Linked DNA regions of Homo sapiens: region 1 is linked to region 2. The links are contacts of gene promoters, found by promoter capture Hi-C in human tissues and cell types (Jung and others, 2019). All regions are on one chromosome and are shown on one strand. The core of a region is centred on a gene start or on the middle of the fragment in contact, and the rest is flanking DNA. Distances in the headings are between cores, read along the strand shown. Region 1 overlaps CD200R1 (CD200 receptor 1). Region 2 holds the start of BTLA (B and T lymphocyte associated).

Region 1 (2,957 bases), core at 454-2,953, 470 kb before region 2:
CAAAATCTTTAAGGAAAGCAATACCAAAAAGTTCCAGGATTAAAGCAGGGCTAAAAGTTTTTCTATTTCTTTTTTGAGACAGGGTCTTACTCTATCTATCACTCAGGCTGGAGTGCAGTGGTGCAATCATGGCTTACTGCAGCCTTGACCTCCCAGTCTCAGGTTATCCTCCTGTTTCAGACTCCCAAGTAGCTGGGACTACAGGTGTGCACCACCACGCCAGGCTAATTTTTTTTTTTGTATTTTTTGTAGAGACAGGGTTTTCCCATGTTGCCCAGGCTGGTCTTGAACTCCTGGGTTCAAGCAATCCTCCTGCCTTGGCCTCCCAAAGTGTTGGAATTACAGGCGTGAGTCACTGTACCTGGCCAGTTTTTCCACTTTTGAAGAAATAATTTTCTTCAAAAATGTCTGTTACTTTGAGTTATTGTTGCTGTTGCAGGTTCTCTTGGAAGTTAGACTCTGAGATAGAGTTTTGTGTACAGTATGCTTGTGAGCAGAGGGAGAAGTCTACCTGCAATCTCAACCAACTGACACCCTCACTGACCCCACAGGGAGCTCAGGAGCTAGATTGGCCTTAGAGAGGCCCTGCATTGAATAAAAATGGCTGTTCCTTTATAACTCCATCTAAATCAGTCGTTGGATATGGGCTCCCCTGGAAAGGGTCTGACTTTGGTCTAAGTAACTGAAGTCATCCCTGGAGAGGCTGAAAACTGAAGACTGTCTGTTGACAGTGATCCTAGTGGCAGGAACAAAAAGTCAGAGGCAACTGTTGGTGGCACATACTATGTCCACTCTAGTTGTCATTTCTAATACTCTTAATTCCTTCTTGAATTTCCAAGTTTCTACCTGGTATTATTTTCTTTCATCCTGAATAATTTCTGTTATTGTTTCTAGTAGTGTAGGTCTGCTAGTGAGGAGTTCTCTTAGTTCTTAGTTCCCTTTTTATACATATTTTCCCCAATATCTTGTCTCTCTGTTCTTTTGATTGAATAATTTCTATTGCTATATATTCAAGTTCACTGACAATTACAATTTCCTTTCTCCTCTTCATTCTTCTGTAAAGCCCTAGTTAATATATTATTTTAGATATTGTATTTTTCAATTTTAAGATTTCCATTTATTTGTTAAAAGTTTTTTTTCTCTGCTGAGATTTTTCTGTGTTTTTATTCATTCATTGTGAGTATATATTTCTTTATGTCACTAAGCATAGCTGAATGTTGCTGTAAGACTCTTGTCTGAGAATGCGAGTGTCTGGGTCAACTTGAAGTTGTTAGTCTCCCTTAATGTATTTTCTCCTAAGCATAGGCCACATTTTCTTGGTTCTTTGTAAATTAAATAGTTTTATTTGGGTTTTGAATGTTGCACAGATTCTGTTATATTGCTGTGTTGATATTTTACTTGGTTGGACCCAAACTGCAAACTCTACCCCTTGGACAGCATCTCAAATCTGAGTTCTTTTACTGGTAGCTAATCTGCTTTGACTGTGACCTGCAATGTGTGGTTTAGAGTCATCAGAGATATGGGTAGAGTGTATGCAGAATTTGGAACTCTTTTACTCTGACTCTGTCACTTTTCAGAGAGTAAAGTTGCCCTAAAATCTGCCTGCTGGTTCTTCAGAAAACTGTGGGCTTTCCATTAGAGTAGCTGCCTAATGTGGTATCATCTGCAGCCCTCTCTGGGACTAACATCGGTAAAAATGGGGAAATAATGGGAACCTACACCCACAACTCTGATCCCCTATTTCCTTCTTCCAAGCATTGACACCCTTCAAGAATTTTTCTGCTTCCTCCACTTTCCAGTAACCTCAGGTAGTTGTTTTTATATTTTGTCCACAATTTATAGTTCTTACCTGTGGAAACTCACTGGCCCATAAAGAAGTGAAACTTTCTTCAAATATACATATTTTAAAATATTATTGTATTTTTACAACTAATATTGACTTAGTGGTTATATTGTCTTGGATGTTAAGATTGAATATATTATTATGCTTTTTTGCTTTCTAAATGTTACCCATGCATTGAATGTTTTGGTACATTTCACTTTTCTCAGTAAAATTTCGTTCTTCTTTCCCATAATTTCTAGTAAAATTTCTAGACACTAATTTAGATACCAATAGATACCAATTTCTAAATACAAATATAACTCTGTGTTGGGTCTAAAGATCAGTTATGTAATTCTAACCACTAGCTGTTTCATCTTTAGAAATTGCTTAACTTCTTTTGACAGTAATTTCCTCATTTGTGAAATGAAGATGTATGACACTATTAAGAAGTATAAAGCCTTCACAAAGGAAGTACTTTAGGAACCTTCAAATTAAAAATCTTTCATTTTATACATGGGGCAAATAAAGCCCAAGTGTGTATGTGGGATTGCTAATCATATCAAACAGCTTTCTGGGGTGTGAGCTGAGTTTTGAACACCTTCATAGTACAAAAATTAGAGGGGAAAGGGATGGGGCAAGTGTGTGGGAGAAAAATCTATGTCTTTTAGATGTGATACACTTGAAATGACAGCAAGTATTCAAGTGGGGACAAATTTCAGCTAAATGTTTGAGATTCTTGCTTAGGAAAAATAAGTCAAAGCAAAAATGTGGGTGGGTTATTCTGTCAGCCAGTAATTTAGAGTGTCTGTCATGTATCAGTCACTGTGCTTCATGCTGTGGACATTTGATCAAGACAGACATAGGTCCTGCTCTCATGGAATTTAAATCTGGTGGGAAAGATAGATATTAAATCAATTACTGCAAATAATTAAACAATGCGCAAGTGCATAAGGATAAATATAGGGTGACATAGAAATGTGTAACTGGTGAGTCTAATCTGGTTTGAGGATCAAGTTAGGCTCCTCCAAGGAAGTGATGTTTAAGATGAAGATGAACAGAAACAGCGAGGTAAGAAGAGTTGAGGGATAAACATTCCAGGCAGGTCAAACAGGCTTAATGAAGGACAGAGGGAGCT
Region 2 (2,940 bases), core at 91-2,590:
ACTGCCTTAATATTTCCCAGGATGTTTATTTGATTAGTAACAGAAATTCTAAAAGGCTATGTGTACCCTCTCTGTATTATACTATATTATAAGACCAACACTAAAGGTGGATGTGAGGAAGTCGTAATACTGATTGAACGAGTTCTTTAAAATCAGCAATAGCAACTCATTCATCATTCATCTCCAACCATAGCACATTGTCTATTTGACTCAATAAATACATGATAACTGTTTTTTAATTTTAATTTACCCTTGGCAACTCAACTGGGAGCTCTGAATTAAGTATTGCCCATCAGTTTCCCATGTCAGGTCAAAATGTCCAGCAATCTATACACTTTCCTTGCTCTTAAAACTTTCCTTGAACTTAAAACTATTGAAGTTTGGCCTTGGAATAAAATCATCAGTCTCTGAGGAAAAAACTTATATAATCGACTTCTGTCAATGATCACTAATGCCACAAATCTAGATCTCTCATTTGGAGTCTCAAATGGCAGATGAATTTGATTAGCTCCTATGACTATAAGCTAAGCTAATTATTACAAGTGGATGTGGAGAAAACAGTCCTATGGTGGCCTGTGCTATCTGATCTTGAACTTTTCCATTTCTTCCTTTACTGTTTCTATTCTACTTCATCGAGACAACAACTGCATGAAGAATGTTTAAAATGGAAATTTCCTTTAATTGATATTCAAGATCTCCTTTAGATTAGAACTTTATTATCTAGAGAGAACATGTAGCCAATATTAATGATGATCTTGTTCCATTGATATGTATCCACAGATTAAAGACGGCTGCTCTTCCTTCTTCTGTTGAGGAAGTGCTTCCTGTCACTCATTTTCTCCATAACCTGAGATAAATCTTCACTGGTTTAATGACAATAAGCATCCTCATCTTACCGTGACATGTACAGGAAAAAAAAGAAACCTAAAATCTTTTACATAAAAGAAGTTTCATAATCACAAGCTATCACAAAGGGGAAAATGTATACTTACCATTGATAGTTTTACCATAAATTTCCTGACCTTAATTTGATTAAAATCTCAACTTAAAGACTGCAACAATACAGATTTCTTTAAAGTTTAATTGCTCATTTCACTGAACATTGAGTGCAGGAAAAACCTCAACCTGGGGCAAAAACGTGGTAGAGCGGAAGGAGAAGTTAAGGACTGAGCTGCTTTGCAGATCACAGTGTTTGAAAGTGAACAGCCAACCTGACAAGAAGCAAAAACCACAGAACAGAGTACCACATCGTCTTTCTGTTCACTTTTTTTCACAAAATCATCCAGGCTCTTCCTACTCTCCTCTCTTACCACCTCTCTCTTCTTTTTTTTTTTTTTTTAGTTATTTCACAGATGCCACTGGGGTAGGTAAACTGACCCAACTCTGCAGCACTCAGAAGACGAAGCAAAGCCTTCTACTTGAGCAGTTTTTCCATCACTGATATGTGCAGGAAATGAAGACATTGCCTGCCATGCTTGGAACTGGGAAATTATTTTGGGTCTTCTTCTTAATCCCATATCTGGACATCTGGAACATCCATGGTAAGGCACCTGCTTAGGTTATTTCTGGTTTTATTTCTCAGGGGGTCTTGGAGGCAACATTCTCCCTTGCTGAACTTAGTACGGTGTAACGTTTATACGAAGTGGGTAATCGTAGATGAAACCAAGCTGTTACATTTGCTTACCGAAGACATCGTAGAGCATAAACCAAATTAGAACATAGTATTCACCTGCCTAATCATAGGCATCGCATCAATAGCTTGGCTGACTTTCTTAAAAACATGTTGATGGTAGGAAAAGAGAACTGAGTAGATGTTATAAATAGTTAAGTACAAATCTATCACTACTTCTTGCAAAAATGCTCTGGCTGCCATACTGATAATGAATAGATAGCTCGTTCTTTCCAAACTGAGTGCAGTAGAGTGCTGCAGTGCTCAGTTGGGTAGGACAGTTGTTGGATAATCGGAATTATACATATCTCCATGGTTACCCTCAAATAATATTACCTCTAAATAAAATCTCTATACTTGCTTCATTGGGATGTATGCCTTGAGAATACCGATTGAGAAAATGCTACAAAATATAGGAGCAGAACTTTTCGTCATTGCTTCTATTTTGTTGAAAGGGAATGGTTCCTACTTGGTTGTCAATTGAACACAGAAAATAAGTTGGATTCTGCAAAGATGATATTTAGCCACCCCTGCAAAGACTTTATACAGGCAAAAAAAAAAAAAAAAAAAAAAAGGCAATTTCTTTTTTATTGTAAAGTCGCTTCCTACCTTATATTGCATAGGAACCCACATATTATCAAGAGGAAAAGCCTATGAGTGGCTCATCAGAAGCTTCTGATTTTTCAGGTTTTATTTTTTTATTTTTTTGAGACAAGAGTTTTGCTCTCGTCACCCAGGCTGGAGTGCAATGGCGTGATCCCGCCTCACTGCATCCTCTGCCTCCCGGGTTCAATCGATTCTTCTTCCTCCCGGGTTCAATTTATTCTCCTGCCTCAGCGTCCCTAGTAGCTGGGATTACAGGCACCTTCCACCACGCACAGCTAATTTTTGTATTTTTAGTAGAGATGTTGGATAACCCCAATTATCCAACATCTGTCCTACCCAACTGAGCACTGCAACACTCTACTGCACTCAGTTTGGGAAGAACGAGCTATCTATTCATCATCAGTGTGGCAGCCTGAGCATTTTCGCAAGAAGTAGTGATAGATTTGTACTTAACTATTTATAACATCTACTCAGTTCTCTTTTCTTGCCATCAACCTGTTTTTTAAGAAAGTCAGCCAAGCTATGGATGCAATGCATGTTGGGCAGGCTGGTCTGGAGCTCCTGACCTCAAGTGATCCACCTGCCTCAGCCTCCCAAAGTGCTAGGATTACAGGTATGAGCCACCATGCCCAGTGATTTTTCAGGTTTTAAATATTCTGTCTTAT

What was found. Contacts are between HindIII fragments. The study calls those that stand out against the background at their distance.
Region 1: a fragment that was not itself captured here is called in contact with the fragment with the promoter of BTLA in region 2 in 1 of the 25 tissues and cell types used here (dorsolateral prefrontal cortex).

What each region holds. Positions count from the first base shown.
Region 1 is chr3:112,967,300-112,970,256 of GRCh38, reverse strand. All of the region lies in intron 1 of CD200R1 (CD200 receptor 1), which reads left to right. Among named protein-coding and RNA genes, the nearest start is that of CD200R1, 6.3 kb to the left of the region's middle. The HindIII fragment of the contact is 4,924 bases long and covers 1-2,957 here.
Region 2 is chr3:112,497,872-112,500,811 of GRCh38, reverse strand. It overlaps BTLA (B and T lymphocyte associated), which reads left to right and starts at 1,340. Exons shown (of 5, transcript NM_181780.4): 1 at 1,340-1,541. The coding sequence starts at 1,454. RefSeq lists enhancers at 1,619-1,748, 1,839-1,888, 2,757-2,876. The HindIII fragment of the contact is 5,711 bases long and covers 1-2,940 here.